Linked DNA regions of Homo sapiens: regions 2, 3, 4 and 5 are each linked to region 1. The links are contacts of gene promoters, found by promoter capture Hi-C in blood cells and fetal thymus (Javierre and others, 2016). All regions are on one chromosome and are shown on one strand. The core of a region is centred on a gene start or on the middle of the fragment in contact, and the rest is flanking DNA. Distances in the headings are between cores, read along the strand shown.

Region 1 (6,026 bases), core at 1,522-4,021:
GCTGCATGGACATCTGCTTCCCAGAACCTCCACCCACCAGCCTTGCCCCTGACCTTTGTGGCAGCCCCAAGGCTGCCCACCCCTTCCCCTGCTGCAGCCCACTTGGCCTCTGAAAGCAGCACTGTCTGCCTGCACCTTGCCCTCTCCAGGGCCGTCAGGCTCGCCACCTTCAGGAGCCTAGTTTTCAGGTCCTTCACCAATGCCCTCGTCCTGTGGGTGGACATGAGGCCCTCCAGAGCTGAAGGCAGTGTGTGCTTCAGTTTCTGCATCTGTAAAATGGAGATAGTATTTGCTACCCAGGGGTGCTATGAGGATTACATGAACATAGTATAGTGTCTAGAACAGTGCCCAGCACATAGTAGGCACTCAATAAAAGCCAGTTATTATTCCTGTCACTTCTGTGGGAGACGGCACATCAGAGTACCCACCTTATCTCGGTCTAGTCCCGTCCAGTCGCAGGCCTTTGAGTACAGTACAGCCCTAAGGTTTTTACAATTGAATAATCTATAAAAGATTTACAGATTTATTGTCTCATTTGAGCCTAGTAACTTTTTTGTTGTTGTTGAGATGGAGTCTTACTCTGTTGCCCAGGCTGGAGTGCAATGGCACAGTCTTGGCTCACTGCAACCTCTGCCTCCTGGGTTCAGGCGATTCTTCTGCCTCAGCCTCCCGAGTAGCTGGGACTACAGGCGCACACCACCATGCCCAGCTAATTTTTTTTTTTTTGAGACGGAGTTTCACTCTTGTTGCCCAGGCTGGAGTGCAATAGTGCCATCTCAGCTCACTGCAACCTCCGCCTCCCAGGTTCAAGCAATTCTCCTGCCTCAGCCTCCAGAGTAGTTGGGATTACAAGCATGCACCACCATGCCCGGGTAATTTTTTTTTTTTTTTTTTTTTGAGATGGAGTCTCGCTCTGTCACCCAGGCTGGAGTGTAGTGCCACGATCTCGGCTCACTGCAACCTCCGCCTCCTGGGTTCACACCATTCTCCTGCCTCAGCCTCCCAAGTAGCTGGGACTACAGGCGCCTGCCACCATGCCTGGCTAATTTTTTGTATTTTTAGTAGAGAGGGGGTTTCACCATGTTAGCCAGGATGGTCTCCATCTCCTGACCTCGTGATCTGCCCGCCTTGGCCTCCCAAAGTGCTGGGATTACAGGCGTGAGGCACTGCGCCCGGCCAGAGCCTCATAACTTTGTGAGGTGGGCAGTTCAAATCTTATTAATTCCCCATTTACCAATGACAAAATGAGGTTCAGAGAGATTAGCCCTCTTGGCCAAGATCGCACAGCCAGTCAGTGGCAGAGGTGGGACTTGAACCCGTCCCTTGCTGTTCCTTGAACTTCTCCACACGACAGGGCTGTCCCTCAGCCTACAGGTCACCCCTCTAGCCTTGCCTGTTGGCTCTTCCTAATCCTTTCAGGCCCAGCCCAGATACTTTTTAAACAAGAATGATGAGAGCTAACTTTTTTTAAAATGAGACGGTCTTGCTCTTTCACCCAGAGAAGACTGGGTGATAACAGTGGCTCAATCTTGGCTCACTGCAGCCTCTGCCTCCAGGGTTCAAGCTATTCTCATGCCTTAGCCTCCTCAGTAGCTGGGATTACAGGGGTGCATCACTACACCACGCTAATTTTTGTATTTTTAGTAGAGATGCGGTTTTACCATGTTGGCCAGGCTGGTCTCGAACTCCTGACCTCAGGTGATCCGCCAGCCTTGGCCTCCCAAAGTGCTGGGATTACAGGCGTGAGTCACTACGCATGGCTGAGAGCTAACGTTTATTAAGCACCCGCCACTTTCTAGATGAGGTCCTTACTGACTTCCTTGGGTTATTTTAGGTAATCATCCCCATACCTCTTACGTGGCAGGTATGACTGTTACAGAGGGAGAAACCGAGGCTGAGAAAGGCTAAGTAGCGGCCACACCTCACTCAGCAGGTGACAGGCTGCGGTCGCACTCATGACATAGTCTGACTCTAGAGCAGGCCTTTCCTGCCCGCTGTTGCTGCCTCCAGAAGCCTCTCTGAATCCAAGGGTGGGAACTATTCCTCCTTGCCCTCGAGCCTTCGCCAAAGCCAGGGCTTGGAGCGGCCGTGGGCTCCTCCTCCTTCCCCCAGGCTGGGCTCTTCAGGGGCGGAAACCTGCCTGGCTTGCCTGCCTTGCTCGACCCTGTAGCCCCTGGCACGAAGTAGGTGCCCGTGATGCCGGATTATTTCAGCAGGAGGGCAGGGGTGTTCCCGATGAAGCCAGGAGATCCAGGGAGGAGAAGCGACTCCCGGGGCCACCCATGCTTAGATCTCAGAGCCAGGCAAGAGCCAGGTCCCGGGGGTCCAGGAGCGCGCTCGGGGCTCCTCCTCGCCCGCGCCCCCCGCGCCCCTCGCGCCCCCCGCGCCCCCCGCGCCCCCTGCGCTCGCGTCTGCGGGGCCGGGAGGAAGGGGCGGCGCAGCCGGGCCGGGGCGGGCACCGAGGCCTGGCGGGCGGGCCTGGGGCGCTTTCGTGCCTGCCAGGGAAAGGCTGGCGAGGAGGCTGGGGGCGGACGCAGGGAGGAAAGAAGCAATGGGGTGCTCTTGCGTTTTGACATTTTAAAAAGAAGTTTAGATTCGCTTCCCGGAGCCGGGATGGCAGCCTGCGCTATGGTTGGGGACCAACGTGGTGCACGGGCAGGGGCCGGGGAGAGAGGCGGCCGCAGCGGGAGCCCGGGAGCGCAGGGCGGGCCTGGAAGAGCTCCGCCCCAAGGGGCGCGGCCACCCCGGAGGCGGGCGCACGGCTGCTTCTCATTCATTGTCTTGACAAGAGCATCTTCAGCGGGCGAGTCCCCGGCTCCTCCAGCTCCTTCCTCCTCTTCCTCCTCCTCCTCCACCTCCGGCTTTTGGGGGATCACTGTCCTCTCTCGGCAGCAGGTGAGGCTGGGCCTGGGAGGCGCGGGTGGGCCGGGGCGAGGGCCACCTGTGGGGCGGCGCGCGCGTGGGAGCCGCGGGCTGCGGGGGCGCGCGGCTGTCACCGCGACCCAGCCAGCGCCGGGGCCAGGTAGCGGGCGCAGCAGCCCGTGGGGGGACGCTGCTTGGAGTGGGGGCCGCCGGGGCCCCAGAGCGCTCTGCGGAGGCGAGGGCTAGGGACCACCGCGGCCAAGATGGAGGTGGGTGGCCGGGGGTCAGCACAGTGTCGAGGGCCCGACTCCCCACGGAATTGAGTCTCGGGGAGGGTGGGGACGAGGGCAGGGTGGGGTGAGCGGGGCAGCTGCCCTGGGCTTGGAGACAGGAAGGGGTTGAGAGCAAAACAAGAAAAGACCAAGTTCCCCTTTCCGTGGTTTCCGGGCCTGGTACCTGTGGTGGGGGAGGAGGCAGGGTGGGGCGATGGCTTCCTGTCCCCCACCTCTGGTCCGGGGCTCCCCTCTCTCCAGATACAGGCTGCTCCTCAAGACTGGGGCTCTTCACATACGCTCCTCACCGCTCTTTGGGCAGGCCGACCTAGCAGCCTCTTCGGGAGTCCTGGGGTGGCCGGGGGTGCTGGAGCCCCCAGTGAGTAGGCGAGGCTGAGGCTAGGGGCAGAGGCTCTGGGCATGGCACCCTCCAAGCGGCAGCACAGGCCCCTTCCCTGAGCAGGAAGGTGATGCGGTGGCACAAGGTCGCCCCTGGAGTTCCTTGCTCCCCACCCAGACACTGGGGGAAACCATCCTACCTGGACCTCAGAGCAGTCGGAGTGGCCTCTCCCTTCCTGTGTGCAGTTTACATGGGGGTGGAGATGGCTCTTAAGGGCACCTGCTTTTCTGAGCGGAGGCGAGAGGCAGAGGTATGGGGAGGAGGAGATACCTGGACCTGAGCCAGAGACCTGCTGGGGAAGCTATCCTGCCGCCTCACTCCCCTCAGGCAGCCCCCACGCCACTTCCTCCTGTGTCCAGCCCCATGCCAGCAGGCGAGGGAGGCCAGCTCCTGTCCCTGCCTTTAGGAAGCGCTGTGTGGGTGTGAGGGAGGTGGGCTCTGGACACGGTAACTAAGAGAGAACCCACCCTCGGAGCCATCTGGGCTGATGACGCCTGAGTCTGAACCATTAGGAAGGACGGGCTCTGCATCCATCAGCCAGTCAGTCAACAAACATGCAGTGGGGCAACACCACGCCAGGCTCTGTTGCAGAGGCTGAGGGTACAGATTGAGAGGGTGGCTCAGAGTGGCCTGGGGCCAGGGAGAAGGGGGCTTGCAGGTTAGAGGGAAGGAGAGGCTGGGGAAGGCAAGCAGGCATCAGCCACAGAGGGAAGAATAGGGAGCCCCTGGAGATGATGCTGGGACCTTAAAAGCCAGACTGAGGGGTGTCCTGGGGGAGGTGGGGACCACTGGAAGATCAGAGTTGACCTGAAGGGAGAAATGCTCTTATGCTGTGTGCCCCCAGAATGAGCCGGCAGGTGGTCCGCTCCAGCAAGTTCCGCCACGTGTTTGGACAGCCGGCCAAGGCCGACCAGTGCTATGAAGATGTGCGCGTCTCACAGACCACCTGGGACAGTGGCTTCTGTGCTGTCAACCCTAAGTTTGTGGCCCTGATCTGTGAGGCCAGCGGGGGAGGGGCCTTCCTGGTGCTGCCCCTGGGCAAGGTGAGCCCCTGGGGCCCTGGGGGGAGCAGCTCCTCCACCGGACCCATGGCTCTGTGCAGGTCCTGATTAGGTGACGGTCACCAGGCCTTCCAGGGCCTGTGTTGCCATCTGGAAAACTGAGCTGGGCCCCATGAGCCTTACACTTCCTCCAGCTCCTCTGTGCTGTGGCTGTGTGGAAACTGACGCTCAGAAGGAGCCAACACAAGATGGGTCACACCAGTGACCAGGACTACAGACAGTCCTGCAGACCCATGATCAGCCCTCCTGAGCCTCAGCCTGGGGCTTTCTCCCCATGGAAACACAGAGGGGGTTGGGATGGGGTCTGGGGGCCCTGGCAGCGTTCTCAGGGTTGGGAGGGACTCTGGCTCTGGGCCTGTCTGAGGACCTAGCAACTCTGTCCCCCAGCTCGCAGGCAGGGATGATGCAAGAGGTGCTCTCCCCCACCCGCAGCCCTGCCCTCCCCTGGAGCCTGCTGCCCCCTCCGCTGGCTGGCTGCTGCCCCGCACCCCCAGCACACTCCTGTGCTCTTTGGGGGGTAAGACAGGAAGGGGAGATGGGCCCCAAGTTGTTACCTTAAAAGGGCTGATGGAAGCAAAGAGAAGAGGAAGTGGTTGTCGGGGTGAGAGCTGGGCCCGCGCCCCACATGGCTGTCACACAGGAAGCCCTGCTGAAGCAGCTGTCCCCGGAAGAAGCCATTTCCAAACCTCTGCTCCTGCCTGGGGCCAGTTGGGACAGGCTCCCTGGCCCCTCTCCTTTTGGGAGGACCCACCCCTGCAGCCCCACCACTCACACTCGCTCTCTGGGGAGCTGCCTCCACCCCCCCAGCCCCCATACACCTGTCCTGGCTCCAGGGCCAGTTGTGCCCATGGAAGCCTCACTCGGGGAAGCTGGGGTGGGGGTGCCAACCCTAAGGGCAGAGACAGACTGAGACAGAGACCGGCGGGAACTCTGCCAGGGTCTTGCACGGCCCCCAACCTCTGCCATGCGTGGCCAGCCCTCCTGGGGTTTGCCCAGGCCATTTTGGGACTGGAACAAGAGAAGAACAACCCGCCCCCGTCCCCACCCCAGGCCCTGGTCCAGCTCCCAGGGACACCACAGCTTTCCTCTCTGGGCCTCTCTGAAGGAGGTGTGGGGAGGTTGGATTGGGTTTGGGAGGCAAAAGCACCTCCAAGGCCCTGCTGTGCCTTTAGACTGGACGTGTGGACAAGAATGCGCCCACGGTCTGTGGCCACACAGCCCCTGTGCTAGACATCGCCTGGTGCCCGCACAATGACAACGTCATTGCCAGTGGCTCCGAGGACTGCACAGTCATGGTGAGTGGTGGTGGGGACCCAGGGGCTGGGAGAGGGGCTCTAGGATGGGATCTGACATTTGGAGTCCTGAAGACTCACTGGCCCCTCCTCTGCAGGTGTGGGAGATCCCAGATGGGGGCCTGATGCTGCCCCTGCG
Region 2 (6,026 bases), core at 1,523-4,022, 490 kb before region 1:
TTCTTTTTCTGGAGATGGGGCCTCAGTCTCTCCAGTAGCTGGATATACAGGCATGCTCCACCCCACTGGCTAATTTTTGCTTTTTTTTTTTTTTTTTTTTTTTGAGATGGAGTCTCACTCTTTCACCCAGGCTGGAGTGAAGTGATGCAATCTCGGCTCACTGGAACCTCTGCCTCCTGGGTTCAAGCAATTCTCCTGCCTCCGCCTCCCGAGTAGCTGGGATTACAGGCGCCAGCCACCATGCCCGGCTAATTTTTGTATTTTTTAGTAGAGACAGGGATTCACCATGTTGGCCAGACTGGTCTCAAACTCCTGACCTCAGGTGATCCACCCACCTCGGCCTCCCAAAGTGCTGGGATTACAGGAGTGAGCCACTGCACCCAGCTGCCTTTTTTTTTTTTTTTTTTTTTTTTGAGATGGGGTCTCACTATGTTGCCCAGGCTGGTCTCAAACTTCTGGACTCAAGTGATCCTCCCACCTTGGCCACCCAAAGTGCTGGGATTATAGGCATAAGCCACCATGCCTGGTTTTGGAATTGGTTCTTTATCTTTGTTCTGCTGCTGCGTGGCGTGATGTTCAAGAGCAAAGGACAACACAGGGGAAGCCAGTGTCACTGGCACCACAGCCTTGAGCCCATCTCTCTAGCCCTCTGCACCTTATTTCCCATCTGTGAAATGCCCTTAAACACCCCTTCTAATTTTAATATTCTGAGTCAAATTGAGCTCAGGTCCAAATGCCAAATATTGCTGATATTCATCCACTTTTTGACCCACAAAAGTGGTCATTTTAACCTACAATAAAACATCCTGGCTCAGTGGCTCATACCTGTAATCCCAGCACTTTGGGAGGCCCAGTTGGGGGGATTACTTAAGTCCAGGAGTCTGAGACCAGCCTGGGCCATATAGCAAGATTCTGTCTCTACAAAAAATTAAAAAATTAGCCATGCTTGTGGGCAAGCCCCTGTAGTCCCAGCCACTTGGGAGGCTGAGGTGGGAGGATCACTTGATCCCAGGAGGTGGAGGCTGCAGTGAACTATGACTGCACTGAACTCCAGCCTGGGCGACAGAGCGGGACCCTGACTCAAAAACAAAACAGTGGCCAGGTGCGGTGGCTCACGCCTGTAATCCCAGCACTTTGGGAGGCTGAGATGGGTGGATCACGAGGTCATGAGTTAGAGACCATCCTGGCCACCATGGTGAAACGTCGTCTCTATTAAAAATACAAAAATTAGCTGGGCATGGTGGCACGCACCTGTAGTCCCAGCTACTCGGGAGACTGAGGTGGGAGAATCACTTGATCCCAGGAGGTAGAGGCTGCAGTGAGCTATCATTGCACCACTGCACTCCAGCCTGGGCGACAGGTTGAGACCCTGTCTCAAAAACAAAACAAAGCAAAAACAACCCCAAAGTCTGGTTTCCTTATTAACCCCAAGTTCATGGTCCACCCGAAGCTTTTCAAATGTCAGTCCCGGCTCCCCGCGCCCCAGCTGCAGTGCTGGGCCCTATCGTCACCCTCGCCCTCCCGGCTCCCTGCGCCCCAGTGCCAGGTGCTGGGCCCAGTCCTCACCCTTGTCCTCCCGGCTGCCCAGCAGGCGGTGCGGGCGGCCAGACAGGCGGCTGACTTCACTCTGAAGGTGGAAGTGGAATGCAGCAGCCTGCAGGAGGCCGTGCAGGCAGCTGAGGCTGGTGCCGACCTTGTCCTGCTGGACAACTTCAAGCCAGAGGTAAGGTGGGCTCTGCCTCCGGGGAGGGATCTGTGGTGGGCTCTTACCTCCCCTTGGCTTGTGTCCCGCAGGAGCTGCACCCCACGGCCACCGTGCTGAAGGCCCAGTTCCCGAGTGTGGCTGTGGAAGCCAGTGGGGGCATCACCCTGGACAACCTCCCCCAGTTCTGCGGGCCGCACATAGACGTCATCTCCATGGGGATGCTGACCCAGGCGGCCCCAGCCCTTGATTTCTCCCTCAAGCTGTTTGCCAAAGAGGTGGCTCCAGTGCCCAAAATCCACTAGTCCTAAACCGGAAGAGGATGACACCGGCCATGGGTTAACGTGGCTCCTCAGGACCCTCTGGGTCACACATCTTTAGGGTCAGTGGCCAATGGGGCACATTTGGCACTAGCTTGAGCCCAACTCTGGCTCTGCCACCTGCTGCTCCTGTGACCTGTCAGGGCTGACTTCACCTCTGCTCATCTCAGTTTCCTAATCTGTAAAATGGGTCTAATAAAGGATCAACCACATGGGGTTCTGCGGTGATAATGAGCACATAGTGAGGGGTCAGCAAATGTCAGAAGTTACCTGGGACAGCCGGGCACGATGGCTCACACCTGTAATCCCAGCACTTTGGGAGGCTGAGGCGGGAAGATCACTTGAGTTCAGGAGTTTGAGACCAGCCTGGCCAACATGGTGAAACCCCATCTCTACCAAAAATAGAAGAATTAGCTGGGTGTGGTGGCACGCGCCTGTAATCCCAGCTACTTAGGAGGCTGAGGCAGGAGAATCGCTTGAACCCAGGAAGTGGAGGTTGCAGTGAGCTGATGGTGCCACTGCACTCCAGCCTGGGTGATAGAGCGAGACTCTGTCTCCAAAGAAGAAACAAAGGAAAGAAAGAGAGAAAGAGAGAGGGAGGGAGGGAGGGAGGGAAAGGAAGGATGGAAAGAAAGGAAGAAAGGCAGGCAAAAGCCCCAGACAGGCCAAAACCTTCATCCTTCATGCACCCAACCTGTACCAAACACCAGCATGGCCTGGCTGTGAGTGCACAGCAGATGGAGGTTTGCTGGGCAGAGACACTGGGCTGGCCTAGACACTGCCTTTGGTGATACCCTAAACCAAAGGGGCCAGTCCCACAGTAAGAAGGAGACCACTACTACTCCTGCTGCCCTCCTCCCCCCACCTTGCCTAGTTTACAAGACAGGAGGAAAGAGAGAAAGCAAAAAGTTAGAAAACAAAACAAAACAGAAGTAAGATAAATAGCCAGAAGACCTTGGCGACACCACCCGGCCCTGGTAGTTAAAAAAAAGTAACAATAATAATAATATCAACCCCTGACCTAAACTACTTGTGTTATCTGTAAATTCCAGACATTGTATGAAAAAGCATTGCAAAACTTTCTGCTCTGTTAGCTGATGCGTGTAGCCCCCAGTCACGTTCCCCGCTTGCTTGAGATATCATGACCCTTTCACGTGGACCCCTTAGAGTTGTAAGCCTTTAAAAAGGCCAAGAATTTCTTTTTCAGGGATCTCAGCTATTAAGATGCAAGTCTGCCAATGCTCCTGGCCAAATAAACCTCTTCCTTCTTTAATCCGGTGCCTGAGGAGTTTTGTCTGTGGCTCGTCCTGCTACAAGAGGACACAGCCCAGAGGTGCCACCTGCAGCTGCCCTGTCCCCTCTAATCCCAGCTCCACCCTGCCTGCTCCCGTCCTTCCTCCAGGGGGAACATGGACACGCTCAGATGAACCCCAGCTTCTTATGCCTGAACTGGGGAAACTGAAGCCCCATGGGACCAGGGGTTCCACTGGGCATCAAGGGAGGAAAGTTGAGCCCCGGGGTGATCTGGGAACTGGGATCTGGGATCTGGGCAGGCATTGGGGCCTGACAGAGCAGAAGTGAGGAGAGGGTACCAGGAGCTGCAAACTCGGTGCCTCCAGGACCTATTCGGATAAAATAAATGGGTGGAACTGGAATAAGACAAAGTGGGGGTGCGCTGTGGCCAACTGGAAAATGCTCGTTGCAGCCACAGCGTTCCATTAAAAAAGCGAAAGGAACCTGCCTGCCTGAGTCTTAAGCTCCCCCTAAACCCAGAAATGGGTTAGCCCTCCAGTATCCTCCAGCTCTGAGAGCTGGGGCGGGCACTCCATTACTGGGGGAACAGGAAATGGATCCTGGGCACTCTAGGGCAACACACGCCCTCCTTGCAGGGAAATGGATTTCCAGGCAGGGGAGATGCATGGGCAGAGGTGGCTTGGATTGTTTGCTGTAAGATTTGAAGCTGTGATCAGGAGGTGGCTAGGAGATGGGCTGGGTCCAGACCACAAAATGGTAGATCGGAGGATTTGGACTCTGTCTCATGAGTGAGCTGGAAATCAAGCTGGAAAATCAGATAAGCTTATTCGCAGCTTCAATCCAGTCCGTTGCAGAAGGATGCATTTGAGGGGGCTAGAGCAGCTGCAGGGAGGCCAGGAGGAGCTGTGGAAGAGGACTTGAGTGTGGGTCATGGCCATGGGGTTTGGAGAGAAGTGATACAGTGTCTTCAGAGCTTCAGAAGGCAGAGGGAGTTCGATGGCTCAAGGCAGTTGGAAGAGTTGGGTGTGACTGAGGGGGTGGGGAAATGGGGCATGCGTGGCAGGCAAGGACTCTTATGCATCACCTCCCAGTCCCTTGTCCATCTGGCTACACTTCCTCTTTGCCTGGCCAGCCTAGGACCAAGCTGGGATCATTTCCCCAGGATGCCCCACAGACAATGGCAAATGTGCCCATCATAGCAGTTTGTTTAATGAAAATGATATGCTGTTGTGAGTACGGGATGTGCCAGCAATGCTGGCTACTGCATGAGACGGGAGCTAGCAGGGAGCACCTTCATCCAGGGTGTGCAGGTCCCCTTCCCTCAGTTAATGCTCGTGGGGGCGGGCGTTAGCCTCTCCACTTACCGAAGAGGAGACTGAGGCTTTATAAAGTTAAGAGAGCTGCTTAGGGTCACTCATCAATAAAGTGGTGGAGGCCAGTCATGGTGGCTCACACCTGTAATCTCAGCACTTTGGGAGGCTGAGGCAGGAGGATCACTTGAGCCCAGGAGTTCAAGACCAGCCTGGGCAACATAGTGAGACTCAATTTCTATTTTTAAAAAATTATCCAGCTGTGGTGGTGCACACCTGTAGTCCCAGCTACTCAGGAGACTGGGGTGAGAGGATCGCTTAAGCCTGGGCAGTTGAGGCTGCAGTGAGCTGTGACTGCACCACTGCACTCCAGCCTGGGTGACAGAGGCCCTGTCTCAAACAAAAATAAATAAATAAATAAATATATAAAGTGGTGGAGCAGTTTGAATTGTGTCATTCACTCATTCAATATTTAACTGAGCATCTACTGTGTGCCAGGCACTATTCTAGACAATGAACATACAACGAGTAAACAGATAAAAATCTCTGTCCTCAGGGAGTCTGTATGTTGGGGTTGGGGTGGGGGCGGGGAAGAATAGACAATGAAAAAATACTTAAGGAAAATATGTAGACACCAATTGTCCTGATGGCCACCCCTGATGGCCACCAGAGGGCACTGCAACCACGCGGCCCTCCGTTCGTCTCTAATTCCAGCTCCCTTTCCGGATTCCGAAGGCAATAGCCAAGGAGGCTATGAATACGCAGCATAGCATCTGCTCAAGAATCAACGCGAGGAGGCATTGGCAGCAGTTTTTTCTCCACCCACTTTTCCAGCCTCATCCCCTCATCAGACCCCCATCCAACTGCCCAGGGTACCCCTGTGACTTTTCAAAGCCCCGTGTACTCCAGATTCACCAGCTACTCACATTCACTCCCAGCCACCCATCCCCTCCCAAATACTGTCTGGGTTACCCACCAACCCCATCCATCCGCTCACCTGATGCCTGTCCTCCTCCTCACCCACCCACCCGCGCCCCTCGCCCCTTCCACCTGCTGTCCTGCCCACCGGAAACTGGCCAAATTGTCCCATAGATTTTTTTTTTTTTTTTTTTTTTTTTGGATAAACACAGAAATTGACATTCCTGGTCTTAAAGCTTGAAACTTAAATTTGCCTTATCTGAGTTCCTTCCCCAGGAAACTGACCCTCAGGCCTCCCAGATAGCATCAAGGAACTGAAACTCCTTTTCTTTACCCCCCTCTAATTCCTGTTTTCCCACCCACAGCTACATTTGCTCCCCACTATATAAACCCCCAATTGGAGTTTGTTGGAGAGATGGATTTGAGACTTATCTCCTGTCTCCTTGGCAGATGTCATCTGAATAAAGCCTTCTTTCCTGGCGATACTCATTGTCCCGGGATCCCAGATCAGCTTTCTGTGCA
Region 3 (6,026 bases), core at 1,521-4,020, 410 kb before region 1:
TTATTTGAACATGGTTTGAACAGTTGGCCACTTGTGATGGGCCAAAACTCTGTGGTTGGTATAAGAGAAGGTTATAGTCTATTTACATGTCCAGTTAGGCCACTAGGTGAGGAGAAACCTTTAGGCCTAAATTAAAATATGTAAGGAGGCAGCTTTAGGCTAAACTTAATTTAACAATTCTCTTGGCCATGCGCGGTGGCTCATGCCTGTAATCTCAGCACTTTGGAGGGCCAAGGCAGGCGGATCACCTGAGGTTAGGAGTTCGAGACCAGCCTGGCCAACATAGTGAAACCCCATCTGTACTAAAAATACAAAATTTAGCTGGGTATTGTGGCAGGCGCCTATAATCCCAGCTACTTGGGAGGCTGAGGCACGAGAATGGATTGAACCCAGGAGGTGGAGGTTGCAGTGAGCCAAGATTGTGCCGCTGCACTCCATCCTGGGCGATAGAGCTAAGCTCAGTCTCAAAAACACAAACGAAAACAAAGAAAACCAATTATCTCTTTTTGGCCAACTTTCAATTTTGAGAGATTGATAAAAAGCTTTAGGCATTGATGTCACTCTGTCACCACCGTGAATGGACTTTTTTGGTCTAAAATCCCACTAGGAAACATAGCAGTGGGTTTTGTAAGGTGGGAATAAGGAAATAGAGCAATAAGGAAAAACCTCGTTATTCCAGGTTACTTTTTTGGGATGGGTTGGAGCAGAGGGGAGCTTCTTATTATGCTGGAATTTGTTTTCAGGAGGAAAAACCTGGTCTGTTTTGGGATCTCTCTGCTTTCTTTGAAGTTTGAGTTTGATTATGTAGCATTTAGCATGGGTGACTCCATTTTGGTTTGGTCTTTTGGGGTCTAGTTCAGGAGCTCAGGCCAGAAAAACAGCCTCCCATAACTTTACTTAACATCTCTTTATAACATTCTGTCCACAAATGCTTGGTACGTGGCTATAGGTTTCTGGCTTAAAAAATGATTAACAATGTACCCTTACCTACCCTGAATCTGAGCCCCTGCAGCCTCTCTCATACTACTGTGGCCACCCAAGCTGCCCTGAGGTTTCCCAACCAAGGTGGCTCACATCCGTATTCCCAGCACTTGGGAGGCTGACGTGGGAGGATCACTTGAGCCCAGGAGTTCAAGACCAGCCTGAGCAACACAGTGAGACTTCATCTCTACAAAAAGTAAAAATGCAAAAATTTGCTGGGGGGTGGTCCCAGATTCTTGGGAGGCTGAGGTGGAAGGATCAATAGAGCCCAGGAGGTTGAGGCTACAGTGAGCTGTAATAGTGGCACTGCACTCCAGCCTGAGGTACAGAGTGAGACCCTGTCTCAAAAAAGAAAAAAATAAATAAAAGTGAATAAGAAAGCAAAGAAAACCCAATACAAACCCTGCAAGAAGAGAGACAGAGAGGTGAGGAAAGACAAAGGAGGAACGGTTCATAGAAGTCTCGTTGTAGCCTGGGCCCAAGGTGCTGTATTCATTGGATAACCATCCACGGATGCTTACTCTGTACCAGGTGTGATGCCAGATGCTGGGAATTTGGAGATGACTGAGTCATGGCCCCTGCCTGAGAATGAGCTCTCAGTTTAGTGGAGAAGGCTTACATGTAAACATATAAATTATAGTGCAGGGTAATTAGAACCATAATAGAGTAATGTAGGAAACACACAGAAGCCAAAGAAAGGAATGATGAATTCTATTTGAAGAGGAGGAGCTGGGAGGAGAAGAGAGCTGAGGCCTTCCTGTGAGAAGGGTGGGTGGTGGTGCAGGCTGGTGGTGGTCCCCTCTGAATAACCTGGAGGTTGCCAGGTGGGCAGAAGGAGGAGAGCATTTTAGGCAGCTGGAGTGTGCATGGGCAGAGTTGAAGATTAGCAATTGCAGGTCACTGTGGGCGGAGAGCAGGACTCCCCTTGGCAACCTGGTGAAGTCACTTCTGCCCATTACTTTATTCATTGGAACAACTAAGAGTGAACAGAAAAGCAGCGCTCATGCCGTCAGACCCTTCTTCCAAATGAAAACGTGCACCAAGGCCCAGTGTATAAATAGGAAGCAGATAATGTTTTTTTCTTAACAGGAAACAGATCTCCCACTGTTTGGAAATATATTTTGAAACTTTTTTTTTTTTTTTTTGAGACGGAGTTTCACTCTTGTCACCCAGGCTGGAGTACGATGGCGCGATCTTAGCTCACTGCAAACTCCACCTCCTGGGTTCAAGCGATTCTCCTGCCTCAGCCTCCCAAGTAGCTGGGATTATAGGTGCCTGCCACCATGTCTGGCTAATTTTTGTATTTTTAGTAGAGACAGGGTTTCACCATGTTTGCCAGGCTGGTCTCAAACTCTTGACCTCAGGTGATCTGCCAGCCTCAGCTTCCCAAAGTGCTGGGATTACAAGCGTGAGCCACCGCAACTGGCCAAAACATTTTTATTATTTTATTTTATTTATTTATTTATTTGAGACACGGTCTTACTCTGTTGCCCAGGCTGGAGTGCAATGGCATGATCATAACTCTCTACAGCCTCAAACTCCTGGGCTCAAGCAATCCTCCGACCTCAGTCCTCCAAGTACTGAGACTGCAGGTGTGTACCACTATGCCCAGCTAATTTTTTTTTTTTTTTGAGATGGAGTCTCGCTCTGTGGCCCAGGCTGGAGTGCAATGGTGCGATCTCTGCTCACTGCAGCCTCTGCCTCCCGGGTTCAAGCCATTCTTCTGCCTCATCCTCCCAAGCAGCTGCAGCAGATTACAGGCATCCACCACCATGCCCGGATAATTTTTGTATTTTTAGTAGAGACAAGGTTTCACCATGTTGGTCACGCTGGTCTCGAACTTCTGACCTCAAAGATCTGCCTGCCTTGCCCTCCCAAAGTGCTGGGATTATAGGTATGAGCCACAGTGCTCAGCCCTCAAATAATTTTTTTAAATTAGTTTTTTAGTTTTTGTGGGGATGGGTGGGGGGGGTCTTGCTATGATGACCAGGCTGGTCTCAAACTCCTGGCCTCAAGCTATCGTCCTGCCTTGGCCTCCCAAATTGCTAGGATTACAGGCATGAGCCACAGGTGTCGGAAACCTTCTGGATGGGGGTGGAGAGGCAGATCCCCACCACAGGTCTGAAATTGCATCAAAACTTTGAAAAGAGGGCAAAGCTGCTTCACCTGAGAGAGGGAGGAGCTTTCAGGGGAATTCTAGATGGGAGGGGAGAAGGTCACACCACATCTGCCATGCCTGTCTCCACTCTTACCCTGCCCAAGTCCCTCCTCCACTTTATCAAAATCAGGAGAGAGCAATCCTTCTAAAATGCAAATATGAGCATGTACCCCTCTGTTCAAAACCCTTCCATGTCTCCCCTCACTGTGAGAAAAGAAGCCAAACTCCTCCAGGCCGGGCGCGGTGGCTCACACACCTGTAATCCCAGCACTTTGGGAGGCCGAGGCAGGCGGATCACGAGGTCAGGAGTTCGAGACCATCCTGCCAACATGGCGAAACCCCGTCTCTACTAAAAATACAAAAATTAGCTGTGCGTGGTGGCGCATGCCTGTAATCTCACCTACTTGGGAGGCTGTGGCAGGAGAATCGCTTGAACCAGGGAGTCAGAGGTTGCAGTGAGCTGAGATTGCATCACTGCACTCCAGCCTGGTGACAGAGTGAGACTCCATCTCCAAAAAAAAAAAAAAGCCAAACTCCTGACCACACCTCTCAGGCTCTGCACACTCTGCCCACTGGCTGCTGCCCAGGCCTCACAGGTCGGCTTCCCTCATTTCCCTCCAGCCACCCTCCTCTCTTCATTATTTCCAAATTCATCACACTTTCAGCTTGTTATCTATGGCAGATAACCTCATTATGGCAGAAAATAAGACTGAAGCATGTGACCAAACATAGACAGACTTTTTCACAAGATAGTCAGTCTCTTGGGCTTATTCAAATTCCAAAGAGAATCATTTACAAGTTAATTCCTATCTTTCGGGTCCATTCATTTCTCCTTTTAAAATATTTTTTTTTTGTTTATTTATTTATTTATTTTGAGACGGAGTCTCGCTCTGTCACCCAGGCTGGAGTGCAATGGCATGATCATAACTCTCTGCAGCCTCAAAATCCTAGGCTCAAGCAATCCTCTGACCTCAGTCCTCCAAGCACTGAGACTGCAGGTGTGCACCACTATGCCCAGCTAATTTTTTTTTTTTTTTTGAGACGGAGTCTCGCTCTGTGGCCCAGGCTGGACTGCAATGGTGTGATCTCTGCTCACTGCAGCCTCTGCCTCCCGGGTTCAAGCGATTCTTCTGCCTCAGCCTCCCGAGTAGCTGGGATTACAGGCACCCGCTACCGTGCCCAGCTAATTTTTTTGTGTGTGTTTTTAGTAGAGATGGGGTTTCACCATTAGCCAGGATGGCCTTGATCTCCTGACCTCATGATCCGCCCGCCTCGGCCTCCCAAAGTGCTGGGATTACAGGCGTGAGCCACTGCGCCCGGCTATTTTTTTGAAACGGAGTTCTGCTTTTGTTGCCCAGGCTGGAGTGCAATGGTGCAATCTCGGCTCACTGCAACCTCCACTTCCCTGGTTCAAGCGATTCTCCTGCCTCAGCCTCCCAAGTAGCTGGGATTACATGCATGTGCCACAACACCTGGCTGATTTTTGTATTTTTTAGTAGAGACGGGGTTTCACCATGTTGGTCAGGCTGATCTCAAACTCCTGACCTCAAGTGATCCATCCGCCTCGGGCTCCCAAAGTGCTGGGATTACAGGTGTGTGAGCCACTGCACCTGGCCCCATTCATTTCCCCACAAAATCACATACTACCTCTCAACATTGCTGCACCCCCATTTCCCCTCCCCTGTGAAGAAGGCAGCTACATAAGCATCTGGACCACGTTGGGTTATTAGGTCATCGTTCTCCTGTGGTTTCCTTATGCTTGTACATGTGACATAAATTTTGTACACATTTTTCTCCTATTAATTTGCCAATTGTCAGTTCCTTTTTGGGGAGCCTTTATAGGGCTAGAGAGCAGAAAGGAAGCTTTCCCTTGGCCCTACAGCTCCTTGAGGTCGGCTGTTGACTCTTTTCTTCATTGCTGTCTCTTCAGCGTCTAGAATGGTACCTCCAATGTAGAGATGCTTGATAAACGTGTTGAGCCGGGCACAGTGGCTCACGCCTGTAATCCTAGCACTTTGGGAGGCTGAGGGTGGATCAAGAGGTCAGAGTTAGAAACAAGTCTGGCCAACATGGTGAAACCCTGTCTCTACTAAAAATACAAAAATTAGCAAGGCGTGGTGGTGGATGTCTGTAATCCCAGCTACTTGGGAGGCTGAGGCAGGAGAATCGCCTGAACCCGGGAGGTGGAAGTTGCAGTGAGCCAAGAAAGGGCAGCAGAGCAAGACCCCATCTTGAAAAAAAAAAAAAAAACAAGCAAACAAAAAACAAAAACAAACAAAAAAACATGTGTTGAGTTGCTTTCTGTTTAGTAGCAGAAAGCTCTGGAAGGGCTTTGGACATTCACGCGTGCAGGCCCGGGAACGGGATGAGGTTTAAGGCAACTTCATCTAGAGTTTAAAAGGGGCAGGTAGGCCCACAGCTGGCACGTGGGTTAAATGTAAAGTGGCTCAAACAGGATCTGATAAGGCAGAAGCAGAGATGGGGGCCTGGTGTCTCACTGCCTTCACGTTCTTCCTTCTGCCTCAGTCCCCACATGAGAGTGCACCCTAGAGGTGCCAGCATTAGCGATAGGGCAGCTTTCCTTGTTTCTGGGATGGACAGAAAATGGGCCTTGAGACCCCTCCCATCATAGGAAAGCATCTCTTGCACTCTGGAGACTGAGGACTTGCTATAGTGGAACAAGAAGCAGTCTTCGGCAATGGAGGAGATGCTGGATCTCCATACAGGCAGGGTGGGTGCAACGGAGTGGAGCTGTGGCAAATGTGGGTGCCTCTGTCCTGAGGGTCCTGGATGTGTCATGCCTGGGAACATGAGGGCGTTCTTCCAAGGTGCCCATCTCGACCTCTCTGAGCTGCCATCTTTGACTTCCTGTGTTTGGTCACAGACT
Region 4 (6,026 bases), core at 1,447-3,946, 390 kb before region 1:
CCCTGAGACACTTTCAGTGGGTCTACAAGTTCAAAACTATTTTCATAATAAAACTAAGATACCAATTGACTTCTCTTGCATTGTTTCTCAAGTATATAGTGGAGTATTCAAAATACTATATTATATGTGACATCACAACAGCATGAATGCAGAAGCAGATATGAGAATCTAGTTTTTTTGTGTGTCTTTGAGACAAGGTCTCCCTCTGTCACTGAAGCCAGAGTGCAGTGGCACCATCACGGCTCACTGCAGCCTCAAACTCCTGGGCTTAAGCAATCCTCCCACCTCAGCCTCCCAAGTAGCTGGGAATATAGGTGTGTGCCACCATGCCTGGCTAATTTTATTTTTTAAGAGATGGAGGTAGGCCAGGCACAGTGGCTCACGCCTGTAATCCCAGCACTTTGGGAGGCCGAGGCGGGTGGATCACGAGGTCAGGATATCAAGACCATCCTGGCTAACACGGTGAAACCCCGTCTCTACTAAAAATACAAAAAATTAGCCGGGCGTGGTGGCAGGTGCCTGTAGTCCCAGCTACTCGGGAGGCTGAGGCAGAAGAGTGGCGTGAACCCGGGAGGTGGAGCTTGCAGTGAGCCGAGATGGCGCCACTGCACTCCGGCCTGGGCCACAGAGCGAGACTCCGTCTCAAAAAAAAAAAGAGATGGAGGTCTAGGCAGGGCTTGGTAGCTCACGTCTGTAATCCCAGCACTTTGGGAGGCCGAGGCGGATGGATCACCTGAGGTCATGAGTTCAAGACCAGCCTGACCAACATGGAGAAACCCCGTCTCTACTAAAAACACAAAATCAGCCATGCACGGTGGTGCATGCCTGTAATCCCAGCTACTCGGGAGGCTGAGGCAGGAGAATTGCTTGAACCCAGGAGGCGGAGGTTACGGTGAGCTGAGATTGCGCCACTGCACTCCAGCCTGAGCAACAGAGAGAGACTATGTCTCAAAAAAAAAAAGTGCACACCTCTCTGGTTTTTAGTATGTTTATTACGTTACGCAGCCATCATCACTACTTCATTCCAAAATATTTAATATTTCCATCACCCCCAAAAGAAACTCGTTATATCTATTGCTGTAGTGCCAGCTCCTCAGCCCCTCACCATCCCCTGGCAACCACTACTTAGATGTCCTTTTTATGTCTATGGGTTTTTTACTGTAATTTTTAAATTCATTAATGTCAACTTTAATTTAGTTTCACTTCACACACAGTATATACGGCCAGGCCTGGTGGTTCACACCTGTAATCCCAGCACTTTGGGAGGCCAAGGCGGGTGGATCACTTGAGGTCAGGAGTTTGAGACCAGCCTGGCCAACATGGTGAAACCCTGTCTCCATAAAAATACAAAAATTAGCTGAGCGTGGTGGTGCACACCTGTAATCCCAGCTACTCGGGAGGCTGAGGCAGGAGAATCACTTGAACCCAAGAGGCAGAGGTTGGAGTGAACCGAGATTGAGCCACTGCACTCTAGCCTGGGAGATGGAAGTGAAACCCCGTCTCAAAAACAAAAAAACAAAAACCCTCATATACACAAAACATCTTTGGAGGCCTCATTTTTAAAAACTGTAGTGGGATCCCAAGGCAAAACGTTTCAGAAACACTGATCTAAGATTTGTGTTTTTTGTTTTGAGACGGAGTCTCACTCTGGCGCCGTGGCTGGAGTGCGGTGGCACCATCTCGGCTCATTGCAACCTACACCTCCCGGGTTCAAGCGATTCTCCTGCCTCAGCCTCCCGAGTAGCTAGGACTACAGGCGTGCCACCATCCCCGGCTAATTTTTGTGTTTTTAGTAGAGACGGGGTTTCGCCATGTTGGCCAGGCTGGTCTCGAGCTCCTCACCTCAGGTGAGCCTCCCGCCTCAGCCTCCCAAAGTGCTGGGATTACAGGACTGAGCCACCGCGCCCGGCCCGTGTTTTGTTTTGTTGTTCAACAGGGTGGAACATAATGTCTAAACCTGGGCCCTACCTACCTGGTGCTCAAAAGTGGAATGACCGTCCCTAGCCAACCCTTCAGAAAGGACAGAGAGCTACTCAACGGACTGCTGTACTCTTAAGGACTGGGAACCGGAACCGTGGGTGAGTGGGACTGAATCACAGACTAAGCGTTTTCCACGCTTCGCCGACGTGCTGAGTGCCAAGTTATAAAGACAGGAACATCCAAGCTGCTCTCCTGGGCTGACACGGACGCGAGGGGACCTACAGTGGCCTTGGGCCCAGCAGGCAGCGACTGCAACGTGACTGCCCAGAGTCCAGCCCCTGGGGCCCAGATCTACAGAACCGACCAGACGTGATAGCCCTTTGGCTGGGGCTGCAGTCCCACGATCCACACAACGACCCTGGCTCCGCAGACGCGCCAACCACCCACGGAGGCAAGAAACTGCAGAAAGTAAAGGGAAAGGGAGCCCAGTGCCGGGCGGCGCTGAGCAGCTCCCCCAGCGGCCACCGTCGCCAACATCCCTGCGTAGGGGTTTGTATCGCAGCGCGCTTCCAGACATCAACGGCTGCGCGGCCCACGCGCGCGCATGCGTCCTGACCAGGGGAACCTTTTCTTGGGGACCCGGAGGCGAGCGCTGGAAGGCGGGATAGTGGCGACCCACACGCAGCAGCTTCCGGCGGCGCGTAGTCTTGATTGGTGGAACCTGGGAGAGGGGGCGGGGCACCGGGGAATTCGAATGGGAGAGGCGGGCCCAAGGAGGGAGTGGAATGGCCGCGGGCGGCTCGACGCAGCAGAGGCGACGCGAGATGGCGGCAGCTTCAGCGGCGGCGATCTCAGGTACTTGAGCCCGGCCTGGGCAAGGCGGGTACCGACGTCTGGAGTTTAGTGGGAGTTATGTGTCGGAGTGTGGTCCAGGCTCTGCGGGTTGTCGCGGAGAGGCGGCCATGGCGCAGGGGCGGGGAGAGGGGGACGGTGAGAGTGTGGGGTCGCGAGCCGGTCGCCCCGCCTGGCTCCTGCCTTCTCCCTGTTTCCTGCTCTCCCCTTGGGTCAGTAGACTCGGGTCTCCGGTCCAGGCTCTTGGCTTGAACCCCGCGCACTTTTTCTTTGTGAGCTTCGGTTTCTTCGTCTGTGAAACGGGGGTCATGGCCTCATCCCTGGAGATCACCTGAATAAGCAAGAGAAGAGTGGCGGACGCTCTAGCCACGAGGACGAGAAGAAGGGAGCCGGAGGCGTGTATTGGGAAGGGTTCTGTGTGGGACATGGTGTTTGGGTGCAGAGACATCCCTGAGAGATGCAAGAGGACGGGCTGAGGAACAGACCCGGCTGCTGCTGGGTTTGAGTTGGCAGCGTAAGATGCTCTGCGATTACAGGAAAACGAAATAAAAGACTAAAATTTCCTTTCACTCTAGCATGGAAGTGAATGCTATTTTAGGGTTGGAAAGGCTGTTAGGACACCCAAAATCTTGTATGTGAGTATTTGTTTACATGTGCCTCTCTAACCCGGAGACTTAATCCTCGTTAGTGATGATGGTGAGCGCCATAGTAATTCACTGGAGCCCTCGTTAGCCTCGTGGGGAAACAGACATTTAGGAGAATGCCTAACACATGTAGAGCTCTTGCTATGTGCCAGGCACAGTTGTAGGCATTTTATGGTGGTGAACCATTTATTGTCCACACAATGCTATCAGGTTGTTACTATTACTGTCTTTGTTTTACACAGGAAACTGAGGTTAGTTTGTTCAGAGTTAACACAACTAGTAAATATTGGGGCTTGAATTCGCTCTCAAGGAGTCTGAGTGTAGAACCTCTGCTCTTAACCATTATGCCCAAGTACATGTTATCCCTGCTGGCTGAGCACAGTCTCCCCTTACCCTTCGAAGATGCACTGTGTCCGGTGCATGGTAGATATGAAAATGCCTGAATGAATAATGTCCCTTCCTCGAGGAATTTACAGTCTGTTTCAATAGAGTGTCACATACGTAGATGTAATACGAAACACAATGAGAGATGTGTATAAACTGAGGGTGTGGAATCTGAAGTAAGCCCTTGAGTATTCTGGGAGGACTTCATTAAGGGAGTGAATGATACTTGAGATGGGTTTCAAAGGTTGGATAGGAGTTTGCCAGGCCTTGACTAAGAAGACAAGAACAGCAAGTGTTTTCTTATTTATGATGTAAGATGCTCTCTTAGCTCAATTTCCTCATCAATAAAAGGGAGAAGAGTGAATGAAATTTAGGAATTGTGAAAGAAGGGAAAATTAATAATTGCTAGCCTGGTCCAAGCTCAAGGTTGCTTTTATCATGAAAGGGCTAGACTCTTGTGCAGTAAATAATTGTTTACATGTGGCCCTCCCCTCTTCCCTCCTACCCTGGACTGTGAGCCCTGGGGCAGGAATGGCCGTGAGCCATTTTCATGATGGAAATGAACAAGCCAGTGATTAGTAGTTTATTCACTAAATCTTAATTTTTTTCAGCAAATACTTCTTGAGGGCCTACTCTGCGCCAGGTGTTGGGGTTAGAAAGGTGAGCAGGATAAAACTTGTTCTCACAGTTGGCAGTCAGGTGGAGAAAGTGACAAACACGCAATAGTGGGGTGTGACAAATGCTTATGGAGGGGCTAACATGAGCTGTGGTTGCACCTGATAAAGCCTTAGTGTCTACCAGGAAAGGGTTTTTGGTTTTGTTTTTTAAGAGGAGTTAAAATGTGTTTACCTTAGTCACTCCAGGGTGGGGTGGGGAGCAATGCAGATATTCTAGGGAGAGAGATTAACGTGGACAAAAATCCAAAGGTGCAAGAGAACTTGGAGTTTTGTAGGAAGTGAAGGAAATTCATCATGACTGGTAACTTACACTGCAAGGAAGGAAACAGAGGGAATGACTAGAGGGCAGGGAGACACCTTGCTACCACCAGCAAGGAAGGCTGTAAAGACCATGACCTTGGGCAGAGGTAGTGCAGTGGGAGTGGAGAGAAGTGGACTTGTTCAAGAGAGATTTAAAGAGATAGACTTGACAGATGTTAATGATGAACTGATGTGGGAGGTAAGAGACGTTGGAGTTAAAGACTCCCACTTTTGGGGTTGGTGCCATTCATTTACATCAGAGATCAAAGGAGGAGGCTGCAGAGAGATGGGGAAGGAGGGTTCAGTTTAGGACAGGTGGAGTTTAAGAGGAGCCGTCGGCTGGGCTCACGCCTGTAATCCCAGCATTTTGGGAGACCAAGGTGGGTGGATCACGAGGTCAAGAGATCGAGACCATCTTGGCCAACATGGTGAAACCCTGTCTCTAAAATTAATCAAAAATTAGCTGGGCGTGGTGGCGTGCACCTGTAGTCCCAGCTATTCGGGAGGCTGAGGCAGGAGAATCGCTTGAACCGGGAGGCGGAGATTGCAGTGAGCCAAGAGCGCCACTGCACTCCAGCCTGGCGACAGTGAGATTCTGTCTCAAAAAAAAGGAGCCGTCAGGGCAGCCGTTCAGAACGTGGGCTGCAGTTGAGAGCTCTTGTGCAGAACGTGCAATAGGACTTATCAGCTGTAAGATGTTACTGAAGCCAAGAGGGCGGGTGACCTGCCTATGAAATGAATCTGAGTGGTCTCAGCTCGGGGCAACTTTGTCCCTCACAGGACATTTGGAGATGTCTGGAGAGATTTTTAGTTGTTACAACTTGAGGGTGAGGGTGGAGAATGCTACTGGCATCTAGTAAGCATATGCTAACAGTCTAAATGCACAGGACAGCCCCACAACGGAATTAGCCAGCCCGAAATGTCAGTAGTGCTGAAGTTGAGAAATGCTGGTCTAGAGAAAGGATAGACGGATCCTAGGATGAGGAGTGAACAGAAAACTAGGTAAGACAACCAGGAAGGTGGGGGGCATGGAAATGAAGGGAAAAGTGTGTTTCCCAAGAGTGTCGCATACTTCTGGGAGGTCCAACAGGATTGAGGCTGAGTATGCCTACTGGATCTAGCACTAGGGAAGTCATGGGTGACCCTGCTGAATAGTGAGGGCAGAAGCAAGTTGCAGGGATGGAGGAGTGGGTAGCAAGAGAAAGGGTGTAATAATAACAGCTAAGGACTGAGCAGTTGCTGCCAGGCA
Region 5 (6,026 bases), core at 3,441-5,940, 370 kb before region 1:
CAGCTGAGCGGAGCCGGCGGGGGAGGGGGAGAGGCGGGTGCCGGCGGCGGCGCTGCCGCAGTGGCCGCCGGTGGCGTGGTGACCACGACCGCCTCGGGGAAGCGCATCCGGAAGAACCATGCCTGCGAGATGTGTGGCAAGGCCTTCCGCGACGTCTACCACCTGAACCGACACAAGCTGTCGCACTCGGACGAGAAGCCCTACCAGTGCCCGGTGTGCCAGCAGCGCTTCAAGCGCAAGGACCGCATGAGCTACCACGTGCGCTCACATGACGGCGCTGTGCACAAGCCCTACAACTGCTCCCACTGTGGCAAGAGCTTCTCCCGGTGTGCACGGGGCCTCGGCCGCCCGCTAGGCCGTGGGGAGGGAGGGACGCGACGGAGGTGGCCTGGCCGTGGCTGGCGGGGAGGGAGGCGGCTGCTGAGGCTGGGGAAGGGGAGCCACTCCCAGGGCGGAGGGAGGAAGCCTCTCCCGGTTACCAGGGAGCAAGGGGTGGTCCTTTGTCGAGGAGGTGGGCCTTGGGGTTGACGGAAGCTTCGCGTGGGAGGAGGCGGCGGCGGCGGCAGCGGCTGCTGGGCTCCAGGGGAGGGATTTCCTGCTTAAGTGTCGCTGTGACGGCCTGGGCTCCGGGAGGAGGCGCAGGGATCCTCGGAAAGGCCTGTGGTGCGGTTTGGTGGATTTGGGGCGCACCACCTCCGCCCTAACCCCAACCCCAACGTGTCCCCAGGCCGGATCACCTCAACAGTCACGTCAGACAAGTGCACTCAACAGAACGGCCCTTCAAATGTGAGGTAGGAAGCCCGCCTCCTCCTGTCTTGGTTTTCATGATTTTGATCCTCATGGTAGCTGTCTGAGTCAGTCTCTCAGACCCCCTTTTTCTCTCTCTTCTTTTTGCCTTTTTGCTCCATTTTCTCATCCCTTCTTCAAGGCCTCATCATGTCACTCCCATTTCCTACAGATCAAAGATCCCCAAGGCTCTGATTCCTTTAATCTCTTGCTCCCCCCTCCCCAGCCCACCAAGCTTTAACTCTCCTGTGACACCCCCCACGCCCCTCCCCCCTCCTCAGAAATGTGAGGCAGCTTTCGCCACGAAGGATCGGCTGCGGGCGCACACAGTACGACACGAGGAGAAAGTGCCATGTCACGTGTGTGGCAAGATGCTGAGCTCGGCTTATATTTCGGACCACATGAAGGTGCACAGCCAGGGTCCTCACCATGTCTGTGAGCTCTGCAACAAAGGTACATGCCGAGGGCTGCCGGGAGGGCCAGGGGCAGAGGGTGGGCGCCTGGCCAGACGCCTTGCCACGGATACGGGTTAAGGGTGCTGTAGCCAAGAGCTCGTGGCGTCTAGATTCCTACAAGAGGTCAAGGGAGCAGCGGGGGGACACCTGAATGAACATCATTAGACTCTAAGAAGTCCTGGTTGGAAGAGATGATCTGCCAGAGAGGTTGAACCTCCTGGTAATGTGTGGGGAAAGCGGGAGTGGAACTTGGCTGCTCTGGGGAAGGAGTAGTCAAGAAAGCCAGTTCCAGGGGTCACAAGGCAAGGTTTCCGCTGCGCAGCCACAAGGTCTTGTCTCCAGCTCCTGGGGCAGGTGGAGTACACGGGCCGGGCTTTACCAGCACGCACCCTGCACGGGTAGCAGAGAAAGCTGCCTTCAGTCAGACTCACCGGTTAACTGGGTTGAGACCGCGGGGCACTGGAGGGAAGGGGACACAGCCGTCTCTGCTGAGGGTCAACCCTGCAAGTGGCTAGGAGTCAGTGTCTCGTCATCCTGGGAGAGGTCTCCCGGCCATGGAGAATGAGTTCTGTAGGTACCAAGGCTGAGAAGCGGGCACCACACAAGCCAGGCCCCAGGCTCAGGGAGGGGCTGTGTCTACCAGCCCCAACAGAGCAGTTGGCCCCAGGCTACCAAGGATACCGTGGGAGGAGGACAGGGCCATCTGAGGAGGGCATCCCCCGCCTAGGAGATCAGCCCCGTCTCTGGGGTCTCCGCCTGGCTGACCCCCGCCCCATCCCAATCCACCCCCCAATAGGCTTCACCACGGCAGCATACCTGCGCATCCACGCGGTGAAGGACCACGGGCTCCAGGCCCCGCGGGCTGACCGCATCCTGTGCAAGCTGTGCAGCGTGCACTGCAAGACCCCTGCCCAGCTGGCCGGCCACATGCAGACCCATCTGGGGGGGGCCGCCCCCCCTGTCCCGGGAGACGCCCCCCAGCCACAGCCCACCTGCTGAGGGGGACCCCCGCACCCACCAGGCAAGGCGTGGGGCATGGCTGGGGGGCGGGATGGGGGGTGTGGGGGACAACGGGGCTCAAAGGGCCCAATAGGGGATCTCAGGAAGGCGAGGGATGCCCATGTACCACTCAGGCTAGGGAGACTTCTGGGCACAGGGAGGATCCTTGAGAACTGCTCTGTCTGGGTGAGGATGCAGGCTGAGGCCTCTGGGGTCCAGATAGGAAGTGAGCAACGGCTGTGTCCCAGGGGAAGCAGGCTGGGAAGGTGTGGGGTGAGGGCAAGGCTCTTGCCATTCAGATCGCGCTGTGATCCGTGGTGTTTCTCCTGTGCAGGTACTGGTGAGGTTTGTCCAATGGCGGCGGCAGCGGCAGCGGCGGCAGCGGCAGCAGCGGCAGCAGTAGCAGCCCCTCCCACAGCTGTGGGCTCCCTCTCGGGGGCGGAGGGGGTGCCTGTGAGCTCTCAGCCACTTCCCTCCCAACCCTGGTGAGCTCCAAGTTGGTTGCGGGGGAGAGGGGAGAATGGAGTAGAGTCCCTTGGTACAAGCTCCTCTCCCCCCTCTTTTCCCACCAACTCCTATTTCCCTACCAACCAAGGAGCCTCCAGAAGGAAAGGAGGAAGAAATGTTTTCTTAGGGGAATTCGCTAGGTTTTAACGATTTGTTTCTCCTGCTCCTCTTCTGTCAGACCTGACCCCACACAAACCTGTCCCCTCGGTTGTGTTGAAGTCCCCTGGACAGTGGGCAGGGGTGGCAGAGGACACGAGCAGCCACTGCCCGTACCCCCTCTCCTCTCTGTAAGCCCATGCCCTGTCTTCCCAGGGACTTGTGAGCCTCTTCCCTCGACGGTCCTCTTCTCTCCTTCCAGTCCTCTCCCCCTGCTGTCTGCAGCCCCTCCCCGGGGAGTTGGTGCTTTCTTTTCCTTTTTTTTTTTTTTCCAGGGGGAGGGAGGAGAGGAAGGAGGGGGATCAGAGCTGTCCCAAAGAGGGAAAGCGGTGAGGTTTGAGGAGGGGCAGAAGCAGGGCCGGCAAAGGTTGTACCTTCATAAGGTGGTATGGGGGGTTGGGGTCAGGCCCTGAACATCGTCCTACTTGAGAATCTGTCAGGGGAAAAAGTCAAGGGGAGCAGGAGGAAGAGCCAGGAGGGCCAGAGGCAGAGAAGAGATGGAGTCTTAGGGGCCAGGGTGAGCGAGGGGTCCAGGGCCTAGAGGTGCTTCCTGGGGGCGGGGGAATGCAGCCAGTGTCCCCCTCCCCTCTTCCACCCCAGCTCCAGCCCTGGTCTTGTCTTTTCATCCCTCTTCCCCACGACAGAAGAAGTTGTGGCCCTGGCCATGTCATCGTGTTCCTGTGTCCCCTGCATGTACCCCACCCTCCACCCCTTCCTTTTGCGCGGACCCCATTACAATAAATTTTAAATAAAATCCTGTTTCTGGCTCTGGATTGAATGAATTGCCCTCACTAAGAACTGCCGCCAACCCCAAGGGTTTCTTCTCGGCCTGGTGTCCGTCAATCCAGCCTTGCTCTGCCCTGTGAGGCTGTGAGGTTCTGGCTCCGCCCTCCCCAGGGGCAGCCTTACTGGCGGCAGCACAGATACAGGGCGGGGCCAAGGCTGTGGCTGTGGAGAGCAAGTTCCAGGTCTCTGGGGAATTCCCAACTCGGACAGGCCCAGAATAGCCCCTGGAGGTTTGAAGAGGCCCCGTCAGAAACCCAAACAGAGCTGCCAGACGGGAATGCCGCCCTCCCCCGTCCACACTCATGGCCGCTGCTCAGCCCCCAGCCGCATCCCTCCCCACGCGCGTCACGGCCCTGAGGCCATGGTGGGTGGATGCGGCTGCGGAAAGGCTGGGGAGTCCGAGCCCTAGGACTGGGAGCAGCGAGGTAGAGAATGAAAGCTGCACCTGTCCCTCATCCTGGGCATGGGCCACTCTGTGTTTACACGGGCTCCTCTGCCCAGCTCCTCCTGCCCCTTGGAATTCCCTTTCCTGTCCCCGCTCCGTCCTTTCCAGGGCCCCTTTTTTGAGCCTTCCAGCGCCAGTTTCTGCCGCTCCTTTCTGCAGGCTCCATTCTCTCCAAACCCCACCCTGCTCCTCCTCTGCAGCCTCCCCGCGTCTTGCCCCATCTTCCTTGCCCTCCTGCTCGTAGAGACGCCTCCACCCGGTCCTGCCTGTCTCACTGGTCCCGTCTCCTCGCAGAACCCTCTCCGTTTCCCCCAAATCCCCGTCTCTTCCAGGAATCCCGGTGACCGTTGGCGGGAGGGGCCGGGGACTTAAGAAGGAGGCGTCTCTCCTGGAGGCGCGCGTGAGAAGGGGCAGGGAGGGGGCGCGAGTGGTCCCCGGGCCGGTTGCCTGGGTAACGCGTGGCTCCCTTGGGCTGGCGGGAGGGGCCGGAGGCTCGCGAGGGGCGGGGGCGGCGACGGCGGCGGAGCGTAGGGGAGGGGACCGGAGAGGAGGGGATGAGCACACGGGAGAGGAGAAGAGGGAGACCCGCCGCCTCCCTCCCTCCCTAGCTGACTTGCTCCCTCCCGGGCTGCGGCTGCTGCAAAAGCCAGCAGCGGCAGCGGGAGCTGTCCGGAGGCCGGCGTCGAGGTGAGACCCGGGCAGACTGAGGCTGCGGGTAGGAGTGGACCGACCGACGGCTGACGCCGGGCGGACTGCACGGGAATGCGGGTGTCTGGAGGGCTGGTGGTGGTGCTGGGCGGGCTGAACCATCGGGAGGAGGCGCCAGCCCACCGAAGGCGAGGGAAGCCCCGGGAGAGGGGCTGACAGGGGATCGAAGGAGATAACCAGGTCCCCCAGAAAGGGGCGGGAGCGTCCTCGCCCTAAACGCGCAGCAAGAAAACCCGCACCGCCTGGGAGCCCAGGGAGGAGGGGAGGATGCAGAGGGAGTGGAATGCGAATGTCGGGTCCTCTGCCCAGTCGGCCTGTCGGAGTGCTATTTGCACAGCTCGTTGATTTTGGGGTGCTGGGATCTGAGAGTCTGGATCTTGTTGGATGGACCCAGGGAGAGACCCTGGAGAAGGTCCTGTTTACAAAAGGGTTAATCTTCCCCAGGGCTCTCCAAGCAGAAGACTTTGAGTAGAGCACTCCTCCCGCAGGGATGTCCCACCCTAAGGCAAAGGAAACCCCAACTTTTCTTCCTCTCCCTAGAGGCAGTGCAAGGCTGGCCCTGAGACAGGAATGTGGCCCAATTGGGCCTGCAGTGCTGAGCGCCCTCTTCCCTCCTCACCCCAAGCCTATCTCCTCCTCTTCCAGGGTTTGCCGCTGTCTCTGCTATTCCATCCTCCCCATAGGGGCTCTCTCCCCTCTCCCATCTCAAGATGGCAGCCAGCAGCTCTGAGATCTCTGAGATGAAGGGGGTTGAGGAGAGTCCCAAGGTTCCAGGCGAAGGGCCTGGCCATTCTGAAGCTGAAACTGGCCCTCCCCAGGTCCTAGCAGGGGTACCAGACCAGCCAGAGGCCCCGCAGCCAGGTCCAAACACCACTGCGGCCCCTGTGGACTCAGGGCCCAAGGCTGGGCTGGCTCCAGAAACCACAGAGACCCCGGCTGGGGCCTCAGAAACAGCCCAGGCCACAGACCTCAGCTTAAGCCCAGGAGGGGAATCAAAGGCCAACTGCAGCCCCGAAGACCCATGCCAAGAAACAGTGTCCAAACCAGAAGTGAGCAAAGAGGCCACTGCAGACCAGGGGTCCAGGCTGGAGTCTGCAGCCCCACCTGAACCAGCCCCAGAGCCTGCTCCCCAACCAGACCCCCGGCCAGATTCCCAGCCTACCCCCAAGCCAGCCCTTCAACCA

Evidence for each region. Contacts are between HindIII fragments. The CHiCAGO score rates a contact against its expected background, and 5 or more counts as called.
Region 2: a contact is called between a fragment that was not itself captured here and the fragment with the promoter of CORO1A in region 1, in 1 of 17 cell types (neutrophils). The highest score is 5.9, in neutrophils.
Region 3: a contact is called between a fragment that was not itself captured here and the fragment with the promoter of CORO1A in region 1, in 1 of 17 cell types (monocytes). The highest score is 6.0, in monocytes.
Region 4: the fragment with the promoter of KIF22 here is called in contact with the fragment with the promoter of CORO1A in region 1 in 1 of 17 cell types (neutrophils); the score reaches 5.0 in neutrophils.
Region 5: the fragment with the promoter of PRRT2 here is called in contact with the fragment with the promoter of CORO1A in region 1 in 1 of 17 cell types (neutrophils); the score reaches 5.3 in neutrophils.

Annotation. Positions count from the first base shown.
Region 1 is chr16:30,180,831-30,186,856 of GRCh38, forward strand. It overlaps CORO1A (coronin 1A), which reads left to right and starts at 2,772. Exons shown (of 11, transcript NM_007074.4): 1 at 2,772-2,895; 2 at 4,379-4,577; 3 at 5,768-5,890; 4 at 5,986-6,026. The coding sequence starts at 4,380. CORO1A-AS1 (CORO1A antisense RNA 1) reads right to left here and starts at 3,958. Exons shown (of 2, transcript NR_186359.1): 1 at 3,674-3,958; 2 at 2,563-2,941. RefSeq lists enhancers at 1,525-1,634, 3,053-3,593, 3,594-4,135, 4,136-4,675, 4,676-5,217 and 3 more and silencers at 2,355-2,464, 2,605-3,064, 3,095-3,204, 4,575-4,674. The HindIII fragment of the contact is 25,461 bases long and covers 1-6,026 here.
Region 2 is chr16:29,695,405-29,701,430 of GRCh38, forward strand. It overlaps QPRT (quinolinate phosphoribosyltransferase), which reads left to right. Exons shown (of 4, transcript NM_014298.6): 3 at 1,592-1,723; 4 at 1,795-3,295. The coding sequence ends at 2,007. Among named protein-coding and RNA genes, the nearest start is that of QPRT, 19 kb to the left of the region's middle. RefSeq lists an enhancer at 1-123, a silencer at 4,049-4,223 and a cis regulatory region at 4,994-5,596. The HindIII fragment of the contact is 2,648 bases long and covers 1,449-4,096 here.
Region 3 is chr16:29,768,893-29,774,918 of GRCh38, forward strand. No RefSeq gene overlaps it. Among named protein-coding and RNA genes, the nearest start is that of ZG16, 6.4 kb to the right of the region's middle. The HindIII fragment of the contact is 4,460 bases long and covers 541-5,000 here.
Region 4 is chr16:29,788,055-29,794,080 of GRCh38, forward strand. KIF22 (kinesin family member 22) reads left to right here and starts at 2,697. Exons shown (of 14, transcript NM_007317.3): 1 at 2,697-2,775. The coding sequence starts at 2,706. It overlaps LOC105371167 (a long non-coding RNA gene), which reads left to right. Exons shown (of 2, transcript XR_950983.1): 2 at 1-69. RefSeq lists an enhancer at 2,108-2,507. The HindIII fragment of the contact is 11,757 bases long and covers 1-6,026 here.
Region 5 is chr16:29,807,503-29,813,528 of GRCh38, forward strand. PRRT2 (proline rich transmembrane protein 2) reads left to right here and starts at 4,691. Exons shown (of 4, transcript NM_145239.3): 1 at 4,691-4,821; 2 at 5,488-6,026. The coding sequence starts at 5,553. MAZ (MYC associated zinc finger protein) reads left to right here. Exons shown (of 5, transcript NM_002383.4): 2 at 1-326; 3 at 728-791; 4 at 1,068-1,239; 5 at 2,575-3,662. The coding sequence ends at 2,729. It overlaps MVP-DT (MVP divergent transcript), which reads right to left. Exons shown (of 4, transcript NR_186424.1): 3 at 2,533-2,671; 4 at 1,142-1,631. RefSeq lists silencers at 1-497, 4,064-4,143, 4,544-4,693 and an enhancer at 578-817. The HindIII fragment of the contact is 10,276 bases long and covers 1,020-6,026 here.